Regions from separate parts of the Homo sapiens genome. Here all the other regions are linked to region 3. Evidence: promoter capture Hi-C in 16 types of primary human blood cells and fetal thymus (Javierre and others, 2016). All regions are on one chromosome and are shown on one strand. The core of a region is centred on a gene start or on the middle of the fragment in contact, and the rest is flanking DNA. Distances in the headings are between cores, read along the strand shown. Region 1 overlaps CEMIP2 (cell migration inducing hyaluronidase 2). Region 2 overlaps CEMIP2 (cell migration inducing hyaluronidase 2). Region 3 holds the start of KLF9 (KLF transcription factor 9).

Evidence for each region. Contacts are between HindIII fragments. The CHiCAGO score rates a contact against its expected background, and 5 or more counts as called.
Region 1: a fragment that was not itself captured here is called in contact with the fragment with the promoter of KLF9 in region 3 in 1 of 17 cell types (total CD4 T cells); the score reaches 5.1 in total CD4 T cells.
Region 2: a contact is called between a fragment that was not itself captured here and the fragment with the promoter of KLF9 in region 3, in 1 of 17 cell types (naive CD4 T cells). The highest score is 5.1, in naive CD4 T cells.

Annotation. Positions count from the first base shown.
Region 1 is chr9:71,742,842-71,747,069 of GRCh38, forward strand. CEMIP2 (cell migration inducing hyaluronidase 2) reads right to left here. Exons shown (of 24, transcript NM_013390.3): 3 at 3,360-3,500; 4 at 2,177-2,738. Among named protein-coding and RNA genes, the nearest start is that of CEMIP2, 24 kb to the right of the region's middle. RefSeq lists an enhancer at 993-1,857. The HindIII fragment of the contact is 3,308 bases long and covers 1,156-4,228 here.
Region 2 is chr9:71,683,559-71,687,465 of GRCh38, forward strand. It overlaps CEMIP2 (cell migration inducing hyaluronidase 2), which reads right to left. Exons shown (of 24, transcript NM_013390.3): 23 at 2,185-2,288; 24 at 1-1,835. The coding sequence ends at 1,639. Among named protein-coding and RNA genes, the nearest start is that of CEMIP2, 83 kb to the right of the region's middle. The HindIII fragment of the contact is 969 bases long and covers 1,654-2,622 here.
Region 3 is chr9:70,412,944-70,416,767 of GRCh38, forward strand. It overlaps KLF9 (KLF transcription factor 9), which reads right to left and starts at 1,714. Exons shown (of 2, transcript NM_001206.4): 1 at 1-1,714. The coding sequence starts at 420. KLF9-DT (KLF9 divergent transcript) reads left to right here and starts at 1,247. Exons shown (of 4, transcript XR_001746710.3): 1 at 1,247-1,467. RefSeq lists enhancers at 195-1,048, 877-956, 1,297-1,426, a silencer at 407-586 and a promoter at 763-1,565. The HindIII fragment of the contact is 11,812 bases long and covers 1-3,824 here.

The DNA of each region.
Region 1 (4,228 bases), core at 1,560-4,059, 1.3 Mb after region 3:
ACAGGTCCAAACTGGAAAGCCACTCAGATGGCCACCAATAAATAAACTGTGGTATATTCATACGACAGAAAATAAACAGCAAAGAAAATGAGCCTCGGCCGGGCACATGGCTTATGCCTGTAATCGCAGCAATTTGGGAGGCTGAGATGGGAGGATCACTTGAGGCCAGGAGTTTGAGACCAGCCTGGTCAATAGAGTGAGACCCCCATCTCTATTTAAAATTAAAAAAGAAAAGAAAAGAAAATGAGCCAGCACTACATGCAACAATATGAATAGCATTCAATAACATAACACTGTGCAAAGAAGCCGGACACAAAATATAACATTGTCGGCTTCCATTTATATAAAGTTGAAAAACAGGCAAACCTAAACTTTAGTAGATCCCACAGATTCAGGAGCATGGCTCCCTTCGGTGGGGAAGAGAGTGATTAATGCATAGCAGAGGGGAGGAAGGGAACTTCTGGGCTGCTGGCAATGTCCTATTTCTTGACCTGGGTGGTGGCTACACAGGCATCACATTGCGGCAACTTATTAAGCTCTACATTGTTATTTTTGGCACTTTTTTGCATGTGTATCATATTTCAAAAACAAAAACCAGAAAGAAAAAAAAACCCTTTGAGGTTTTGCACATGGAATTCCCTTGGTCTGAAAAAGCTTTCTTCTCCACTGTCTACACAGCACGCTCCCGAACTTCTTTCAAGTCTCTTGCCTTTGGGGAGCCTGTACTGATTCACTAGGCCAATTGAGAGGCTCCTTCTGTTAATACTCACGCTCCCATTGCACCCTGTAACTGCAGCATGTCTCACTGTATGATCATCATCTATTTAGGTCTCTGTTTATCCACTAGATTAACCATGGGCTCTGAGACAGTGTCCTTTCGTCTAAGCATCCATGGGTATCCAGCACTTAGCATCTCCTAAATATCCCCTACATGAATAAAAGCCATTTCTAAAATGTTACAGACTGTTTTTCTTCACTATTTTTTGTCTTTCTAGCCTGTTCTAGAATTGCTGTAGGTAATACCCCATTCCAACAACCTACTATCAAAGGAAAAAATAGTAACTAGATCATTACGGCATGTCGGTTTTGAGGTACTCTTACTTTTTCCACCACAGATATTCCCTGACTTTACTAAAAGCATTCAGCAGAATTAAAAGCTTCTGTCTTTTAAATGAAATGTTAGGTCGGCTACTTCCCCTAGACTCAGAACTGCGTTAGGAAATCACAGTTAATTAGAATATGGCACAAGAAGGCTGGGTGTGGTGGTTCATGCCTATGAAGCCGATGTTTTGGGAGGGTGAGGCAGGAGGATCACTTGAGCACAGAAGTTTAGACCAGCCTGGGCAACAAAGTGAGACCCCCTCAACTACAAAAAGTTTAAAAATTAGACAGGTGTGGTAGCAACTGTTTGTAGTCTCAGCTACTTGGGAGGCTGAGGTGGAAGTATCACTGGAGCCTGGGAGGTTGAGGCTGCAGTGAGATACGATTGTACCACTGCACTCCAGCTCGGGCAACGGGGCAAGACCCTGTCACTAAAAATAAAAATAAAAGGAATAGGGTACAAGAACCATAAATAGCAGAAATGAATTCTACTATCTGGATGAATTTCCTAGCCCTTTAACTTTTTCCTTCCTCATATATGCCAGGGGTCCATAGACCTGTGCCAATCAAACATGCAGATTCCAATCAGCCTGCAAAGGAGTCCGAAAAAAGAAAAAGAAAAAGAAAAACTGCATATTCTACCCCCTCAGCCTTTTAAGACAGGTTTAGAACTTAGCATGAAATTCTGCCCTAACCTTTAAACTCATTAAGTTGCCTCAATTAGCCTGAGTTTCATATGATCTTCAGAAGGTAACGAAAGGAAGAAGTATCTTCAGAGGCAAATTGTCCTTAAACTGCCTGACTGTTTTTCAGTACCACACTTCTGCTCTCAACTTTTCACAAGTCTGGCACTCCAGTTCACAAAGGGCTTTGTAAACCAAAGCCAATGAAAATAGCTTTTGTATGTGGTGTCCTATCCTCCAGCCCCATGTCTCAAAGCTACCAGACATGCAAATGGTAGAGTGGCCCTTCTGATGCCTGAGTCATGCTGTGGCTGTGGCTCCTTTCCCCACCCTCACTCTCCTCTCACACAGACACGGACTCTGATAGGGATCTGGGAAGAAGGTATGCCTACCTGTAGCCCAGTCCTTGGATCAGTTCACTTCCCAACCGTTCCTGGATCATCTGGATGGTTCCTTGTAAGAGACTTTTAGCGGCTGAATCCCCGACAGCTATGGCAACAATCCGACCTGGATCCTGGAATCTCAGAAACTCCTGAAGCCGCCTGCTCTCATTGCGGTATTCATGGGTATCAAATCTCTCACTTTCCAAAATTTTGGCCGTGTCTTGGTCAATGACCCTCACATTGAGGCCCCGGGAAAAGTCCTTTTCAAAGGTATAGGACCCAAAGGGCAAGCCTGAGGAATTCAGGGTCCTTGCCAACAACGTCCACGATGCCTTCCGTGCCCCATGTAACTCCAGTGTCCCGCCAGCTTCCACACCAATAAACTTTTTGCCAAATGTTGGCATACTTTCACCTTCATCTGACTTGCCATACAAGGTAATTGTCGCTTTGGATTTATAGCGGCATTTTTCTGCTCCAATATGAAGCGCCCCACCATCCTGGATCAGGATGTAATGAGTCCTCAAAGTAATATTTCTGGATCCATCTTTATTGTCCCCAAATACAAGCAGTCCTGCAGGGAACACCACCCTGTAAGCCAACTTCTAAATCATCTTTCTGAGATACAAGGAAATAGATTTCACCTTAAGTTAAATACACTTCCGCAATTAGGTCGGAAAAAAGAATTCGCTAAGAATCTGCTTAGAAAACTAAAGGGAAAAATGAAGAGTTCATATCTTAATATACTCTCAATGCCCATGACTGTGAATTTCAACCTACTCACTTTAGAGGTTAAATCATTTCTCTTAAAAATATCTAAGAGTCTACAAATCTGAATCTTATTTTTGTATATGTTTACTCATGTTAACTCTCAGAATTGTGACAAAATCACTCTCAGAATTGTGACAAAAATTTAGCTCTGAGAGATCACCTCTCTGGAACTGTTTCCTTGTCTATAAATCAGGGGTCTTGATTTGAGTGATACCTAAGGTCTAAGCTCTTAAATTCTATGTTTTTTATCTCTGGATAAATTCTCTGGTTTTATCTCATGATCTTTCCAAATCTCCATGGTTAGAGTGACACCACAAACTAAAGCCTATTCTGCCTAAAAATAGTCTTCTACATAAGGAACATCAAATATCCCCCACATTAAAGAGCAACCTTGCAGTTCCCATAGGCAGGAACCATTACCTACCTCCATCCTGAATGACTATAGAATGCACGGTGGCGTCTGAGGTCAGACGGAGCATATCTCCCTCCTTGATAACAACTTGCTTTGCAGAATCTTGTCCTGGATCCCAATTCCTGAGACGAGGATTTTGATCTGGGCAATTTTCTATAAACACATTGATATTCCATCCAACCCATTAAAATGCAGGAATAATATAGCCGAATCTAAGCACTACCATTATTTACTGCAGATCTGCAAAAAATGTGCTAACATATGTTGATTTCCTGCCATTAGAATGGAAATCCCACGCCTTCCCACCAGCAGAGAACCATCTTACCCTTTAATTTGTCATCACATTTCCATTTTAAAGTTTTACCACAAAACTAAATTGCTAGCATCTAGTTCAGGACAAACTTCACCAAAAAAAAAAAAAAAAAAAAAAAGTTTCCCTGAATCATCTACTCTGGAAATAAACCAATAGTAAGAGGCAAAATTATACATTCTCTTGGGATTCACACTAGAAAGCTGTTTTAGAAAAGAAATGTGTTCACAACATCCTGGTAAATCAAAAATGAAAATTGCTAAATAATACATTGATCAGGTCTTCACAAGTTCCTTCTTGCACACAGTGAATGATGAAGTAAGTACTGATAGCACCTCTCTCCAAGACTGAGAAACATCACTATCTTCAGCCATGTGCACTCTCCCAACAAAATGAAAGAGGCAAGTGGCTAAAGACATAACTTCTCATTTTCAGAGATGAGGAAATTACAGGTTAGAGAAACCAAAGATTACTTAGCAAGCTGAGTGATACGCAAGTTTCCCCTTTTAGAAAATGAGATTATTGACTTGTAGTGTTCCTTTACTGGAATTAGAACTTGCCTCTTGAATAG
Region 2 (3,907 bases), core at 888-3,387, 1.3 Mb after region 3:
ACCTTCAGGAACCATAATCCAATAATATATTTAATAGGTAAGATCTCATTCATCAATATACAAAAAAAAAAAACAAACCAGAAAACAAAAAACTAACTTTGATTAAGACATGTGCCCTTAGTAAGGGCACTTACAATTAGAAAGGTTTATCGGTAGCACTTTGAGGTAGCATATTTTGTAAAGTCACAGGGCTGCTCTGCAGTTTCTCCTGGATACAAAGGTAGAGGCCATCAGCCTTTGCCCCTAGAAGAGGAAAGTGAAATTATCTGTACTCATTGCCAGTGTCAGCCTGAACACACTTTCTACCACCCACCCTTGGCCATCCCTCCTCTACACTTTATGCGTCGGGGGTTTAGAACAACGTAAAGGCATTTTGCTGCTTCTTTCCTCTTGGTACGGCAGCATCCCAGGCTGTGGAGCCAGTTGCCTCTTGCCGCATGTGATTCACCAGCAGGAGACGCATGCACCCTGTGGAAAGGGAAGCTGGGCATCACAGCATGCTTTTTAATTGGCTTTAACATTTCATTAAGTAAGAGTGACTCATTCCTGCAAGGCTTTAAAGAGGTTCATTTCTGAGTATTCTCTCCACGATTCTGACCCTAGAAAGCGCTCCTTTTTTTCCTCCCTGGGTGTAATCATTTTGGGGTATCATTAAGCTTTCTGGGATTTTCCTGGCAGGAGGGTGAACAGAAAAGCTTTAAAAAATCCACACAAAACAATAACAAAAAACCCAAGTGCAAGAGCAATACCAAGAACAGACTTCCTTTGTGCAAGTTAAAATGATACAAGTTTACGGTTCAGGAAAACAACCTACTTCTTAAAACAAAACAAAACAAAACAAAAAAGGAAATATTCAGTTGAGCTCTGCATTTTAAACACAAATATACAGTCAAAAGAGGCTAAGGATTAAAGCTGCAAAAATGGTCCCAACAGCCTCAGACTTTTGCTGCAGGAAAATTTTTTGCCCAATGGTCACAGATTAAAGGGATATCTAATCCCCAAGAGCCCTTTTGTCCCAATATACTTCCTGTTTGAAAGTTTAACCCTTACAAGTAATTGATATATAAGTGAATAAAAATAGCACATGTCCAGGCAAAAAAGGGCATGAGCTGGGCCTGAGTTGCCACTTAAAACTGTCATTCAATATCATAGAAAATCCTCAAAGGCTGCCCAGAAACAGGGCCCCAGGCACTGCTGAACATGCCAGCCACCAAGTCAACTGCCACCCGACCCAACTGAGCATTAAACTTCAAGTATCCAAGGTGCTACAATAGCTGGTCCTCTAAAGACCTCAGGCTGACTCTCAGAAGCCCCCACTCCACCCCACCCCATTATACAAAAAGTAAAAACATTGCTCATGGTCATTACAAAATACGGGGGTGGAAAGTGAGGAATAAGAGATCTGCTCTCTGAATACACCAGCCTTACAAATACAAACAACGTCTTTAACATTTTGTACAACTAGAAGGTGCATGAAGCTGGTATCCAAGCAATAATTTCAAACGCTTTCTTTTCTCCCCATTCTGTATCAAACTGGAAAATGGTTCCGTTGGGTTAACAGTGTCATTTTAAAATGCCATAAATTAAATAAGTTAGTTCACATTTTTTTTCCCCCAGCACTTAAGTTACAGTTAGTCTCTAATGTGCTTTTGAAGCTTGCTTTAGCAGTTCCAGGTCTCTTCTGCGGACAGTGGTGGCTCTGGGACAACCATATTCGTCCAGCTGCAAAGGTATGAATTGTTCAAGCACCCCAAGGCCCTGTCCAGCAGGACTGGTAAATAGCTTAGTCCATGATGGTTTAAAGTTTCCACTGAATCCCAAAAATATGGTACTCCCTAAAAAAAAAAAAAAAAAAGAAAAAGAAAAAAAATCAATTTTTATAGCTACATTCCAGCAAGAGAATATAGGAGGTGAGTCGGAGGTGAGCAAAACAAAGGCAGCTATTAAAAAACTCTGCACTTCCTTACATCAGCAAATGAACTCTCACCACCCACCTTTTGCCCCAGATAACAAACCACATCCCAACACACTTCCTCTCACATTGTGCCCTTATTTAGAAATCATCTTAATGATACCCACTCCAGCAAACAAGCTCATGAAAATGGTCTGGTAGCTGAATTGCACCATAAAATTACCTATGTTGCTGGCCCTGTAAGAACTTCATGAAATAATACAAATACAAACCTTTGTCATAAAGATGAGCTGGTTTGGCTAATCCCAGAGGTACTAGTAAGTGTGAAATGTTTAACTGCTTTATTTCTCCTCTTGTGCTCAACAGAACAATGGACCTGTATGTGAAATTTAGAAAGTCAGAGCCAATTTCAATCCTTCAGCATGAGTATCTTTCTACTGAGTATCTTTCTGAACTGACTGCTGAATAGAAATATTAGATAAAAGCAGAACTCCAAAAAGAAAAAAGTCTAGATGATTTTCCATCCAATTCCCACTCTTCCACCCCACCACCATGGGCTTCACACGTTGCTCTTACAAGGGGTAACGCATACATAAACCAAATCATTTACGTACGTTCACCTAGTGCAGGGCTTCCCAACCCCTGGGCCATGGATGGGTACCAGTAGATTAGGAACCAAGTTGCACAGCAGGAGGTGAGCAGGCGAGCGAAGCTTCATCTGTATTTACAGCCACCCCACAACACTTGCATTACAGCCTGAGCTCCGCCTCCTGTCAGGTCAGCTGTGGCATTCAACTCTCATAGGAGCAGAACCCTATTGGGAACTGCACATGTGAGGGATCTAGGTTGTGTGCTCCTGAGAATCTAATGCCCAATGATCTGTTGATCATCACCCCCAGATGGGACCATCTAGTTGCAGGAAAACAAGCTCAGGGCTCCCACTGACTTTACATTATGGTGAGCTGTGTAATTATTTCATTATATATTGCAATGTAATAATAATAGAAAAAAAGTGCACAGTAAATGTAATGTGCTTCAATCATCCTGAAACCATCCCCCTTCACCTCCAGTCCATGGAAAAATTATCTTCCATGAAACCAGTCCCTGATGTCAAAAAGGCTGGGGACTGCTGACCTAGTGGATGGTCTGGGGCACAGCTCTTTTAGGGAATAGTCTATTGTTGTTGTTGTTGTTTATAATTTGTATAAATTTGTGAGGCACAAGTGCAATTTCATTACATACATAGGATTGCATAGTGGTGAAGTCAGGGCACTTAGGGTATCCATCACCCAAATAATGTACACTGTGCCTATTCAGTAATTTCCTGTCATCCACCCCTCACCCTTCCTTCTCCATTGTCTATCAGGGAGTAAGTCTACTGTAACATGGGAGAATGGTTTTGTTTTGTTTCAAATACTCTATTTATTTAAGTTCTATTATCTATTTATTAAATAAATGGATAAACACAATTCTAAAAATAAATAAACGACTAAATGTGTTTTCCATGGTTTGAATTACCATTTTTGTCACATAGTAAGCCAACATACATACTTGGACCTATCTGTGGATTCTCCGTTCTTCTCTGATCTTGCTCTTCTCTGCCAAAACTATGCTGGCCTATGGCTTCACGGTCCATTTTAATATTTGATAAAAACAAGCCCTTGTATTACTGTAATTTGTTTATATTTTACTACTTTCTCATTTATTCTTCCAGATGAACTACAGTATCAACTGTCAAGTACAGTAGAAAAGTACCTTTTGGGACACTAATGGAAATGTGTCAAATTTATATTTTAACTAAGTAAATGTAATGCACTTGAATCATCCTGAAACCATCCCCCTCCACCTCCAGTCCATGGAAAAATTATCTTCCATGAAACTGGTCCATGAAATTAACATTTATTAATTTTCCATTCAGAAACAGAGTCTCTCCTTTTATTCAACTTCTGTTGCATATCCTTTAGCAATATATTTAATAATGTATTTATTTTCTGT
Region 3 (3,824 bases), core at 464-2,963:
TTCGGAGGCGTGTTTCCCCTTCGCAGCCACTCCAGGATGGAGGAGGGAGAGCGGGCTGGGCGCGCTGCCAGGATCCTGTCTCTCCTCCGGGCTGTGGGAAGGACTCGACCCAGATTCGGTGGTCACGTCGCTGTCGGATCCCATATCCTCATCTGGACTTTCCAGACTGTCGCTGCACACGGAGGGGGTCTGGATGGGTCGGTACTTGTTCAGGTCCAACAAGCTCTTGGCGATGGTGACCAGTGTGCAGTAATCCTTCCAGGTGTCCCCCGGGTCACCGTGCTCCTTGGTCACCTCGCGCTCAGGTAGTCGCAGCCGCTCGGCGTCCGGAGCGACCCCATGCTCCGGCACCGCAGCGCGGTTCGAAATGGAAACCAGACACTGGGCAGCCACGAAGTCCATGTAGGCGGCCGCGGACATGGTGCGGGCGACGGCAGCCCAGGCGGCGCGGACAAACTTGGCGGTGGCTGCGGAGGTTCGGCTCGCCCTGCCCTGGCCTCGGACGACGAGCGCGGCGCGGCGCGGCACGGCGCGGCGGCCAAGGGGGCGGGGGCGCGGGGCGCTTCCGACTCGCAGGAGCGCCGAGGCGACCTCAGCCCCTCATCTTTACGTAACCGGCAGCGCCTCCGCACGCAGCATCCACGGCCCCGGGCTCCGCCGCGCCGCCGCCTCTAGCCGCCGCCCCTGCCCCGCGCCGGCCGCGATCCCCCGACGGGCGCGCCGGCCCCTCTGAGCCGGCTCCCTTGGAAAGATGCCACACGTGGCGGTCGCAAGTTTATTCGACTGAAAACGCCCCCGAGGCGCTGGGAGAGGAAACTGCAAGAGAGGTGCACGCCCTCGGCCGCCTCGCCGTCGAGCCAAAGCCCCAGGACATTCACCCGATCACCCCGACGCGGGTGGCGAGGGTCCCGCCGAGCGCCAGGTCTAAGAGACACTTTTTCCCGAGTCCACTGACGGCTTCTGAACCCCTGCTCCGGCCGGTCCGCACCGTTCCGGCATTCTCTTGCTCAGTAACAATTTCGCAGAATCCCATCACGTCACAAACCAAACCCCCTCCAATTGGCCAGTGGGGAGGGTGATTCAACTCTGTTTACTTTCTCCCCCTGCCAGTCAGAACGGCCTTCGGTGGAGAGGTGCGTCTAGAACTGAGGCGTGCGGCCAATCCGACTGTTCCGTTTCGCTGCCTCGTGCTACCCCTACAGCCTCGAACACTGACATTTAAAAGGGTAACAGCTGGGAGGCAGGGAAGGGGCAGCCGCACACTTTCGGAGTGCCTCGCGGTCCCGTGGCCGGTCCGGGCCTCCTGGCTCACGTTCCAGCTTGCGGAGCTTTGGGACACATCTTTCCTAGTCAGTTGCGCTCGTTCCTATGGCAAAAGAGAACTTCAGCTTCGGTTTTCCAGCTCCCAAACAGTTAAGTGACTTCCTGCAAACGCTACAGTCCCAGCAACCAGCCTTCCAATCAAAAGTAAGTTGGTTGATGTCACTGGCATTGGCTCGGCCAATCACAAGGGCGTTCCGAAAGCAAGCGCTCGACACTTGTAAACGCGAAGAGCTGTAGTGAAACTGGACACATCTTTGTATTTTGTGTTGCTGGTAGTAAATTTGAGTTATGGATGAGAGGACAGGGGTGATGAATAAATGCAGTGTGAATCTATAATTAAAAAAACCCCATTATGTCAGGATAAGTCCAAGAATAAACACAAATGAGTAAGAATTCGTTTTGTTATATATTTTTTGGATGCAGCATACTTTGGGGCAGATGTTTAAAAATTCTTCCATCCAATACATTAACTATGACCAATTCATCTTAAAAATGCAGTGCTAACAAAAGTTCTGGTTTTACAGCATAGCCTTTTTACTGCCTGAGATTCTTCCATTGAAACATCCCATCTTTGCTTGTCATATCTCTTAATTCCTCTACTTCTCTGGTGCAATTTAGTCTAAATAAATTCTTTTAGCTTTATTTGGAGGCTATTTTTAACCCACTTTCAGAAAAACGGAGACAAAAACCATTCATTTGTGTAACTTTTATAAAAAACCCACCATTCTTAGCTCTTTTTCTTTCCAGAGCCCCTGCATGGTTTTTAGGACATGTTTCTCTTCCCTCACTTCACAAATGTGGAAACTGAGTTACAGAGAAGTGACTTATTTATCTTATTAGACAGATAATGATAGAACTCAATAGAAACCACAAGTCTCCTGATTTCTAGCTCTTTGTGCTTGCAACTAAGCCCTTTTGGTTTTGTGAAATATTAACTGTGCAGAACAGATTTTTAGGGACTGGAACAAGCTGGAAATCCTTAGCCATGGAATACTGTGGCATTACTTGGTCAACAATTAGTATGGGTCTTGGAGTCTGATTAACTTGGTTTACCCCTCCGTCTGAATTAACGATGTGGTTGTTTTCCATCTTGATAGCTAGAAAAGAATCTAGGGCTAGTTCTTTTTGCAAGAGGCATACTGTCAGCACAATTCATTAAAAATAATTCACTTTCGTGAATGTGAGAGGTACCTGATTCTATGTGATGCAGATTCGGTGAGTTCCAACCCTGACCCCCCACTGGCTATTAACCTTTGTTAAGAGAAAGTTACACCAGGTTCTGGTCTCCGAGGCAAGGGTCTCAAATTGACTCTACCAATGTGAGATCTACAGTAGTTTCTTTTGACTTTGTTTTTAAAGTGGTACATCAAAAATAATAATAATAAAAAAAAAGTTAGCCAGGCGTGGTGGCTCGCACCTGTAGTCCCAGCTACTCAGGAGGCTGAGGCTGAAGGACTGCGTCAGCCTAGGTCAAGGCTGCAGTGAGCCCTGATTACACCACTGTACTACTCCAGCCTGGGCAACAGAGCAAGGCCCTGTTTTTTTTGTTTTTTTTTAAATCATAACTAAGGGTGGCTCAGGTAAGTAAGAGTATAATAGATTTTAATTAAAAAATAACAAACCTGACAAGACCAGTTCAATAAAAGTGTACAGCTTAAAAAAATAAAGAAAACAACAACAAAAATATTAAAGTGGTACAGGGAAGATATTGCAGTAGGTGACTGCAGGTGGAAGAAAGGTGTAGATAGGGGATACTGGGCAACCAAGAATATCATCACCATCAGCATCATTATCACCGACCCCTTTCATGGAGGGCTTACTCTGTGTCAGGCCCTGTACCAAGCACCCTGCATGCATCCCTGTAAGGTAGGTATACAGTGTATAAAAAACTCCAAGCCATCTTGGAGTTCTTGCATTTTTAGAACTTAATCTCTTAATTTTAGAAAAGAATTCACTGAAGCCCAGGGGAGTTTGCCTACTTCATGATTTTTCTGGGACAAATTTTGTCCCCTAGGATACACGATCACTTAGAAATTGCACCTTTGCCTGCCTCAAGGCCCAGTGCATATACCAGCGGGATCTCTCCAGGATCTCTATGATCATGGCCTGTACAACCCCTCAGACTTGCATTTTAACTGGGATTGTACTGGTGAAACAGACTGCTCGGGCCTGGACATCTATAGACAGCCCTAGGACCACCATCATCATTATTCCAGAATAGAGGAAAAGTCTGTATCTTTCCTTGAAGATTATATAATCCAGGAATTTGAATACATCAGTCACTTTAGGTTTTTTAAAAATATAAACTTTTCCCTTCCTTACTCCTTGCCAGCTTTTCTTTAATTCCCTTTAATTTCACTTTGTTTGAACTGGACATAAACACTGAATTCTCCAAACTCACTCATTTCAGAGTTACAAAAGAAAGTAATGAAAGAAAACTGAGATTTCATCTACATGAATTTCTCACACATTTACAAACATAACTGCTGCTTGACTTGATT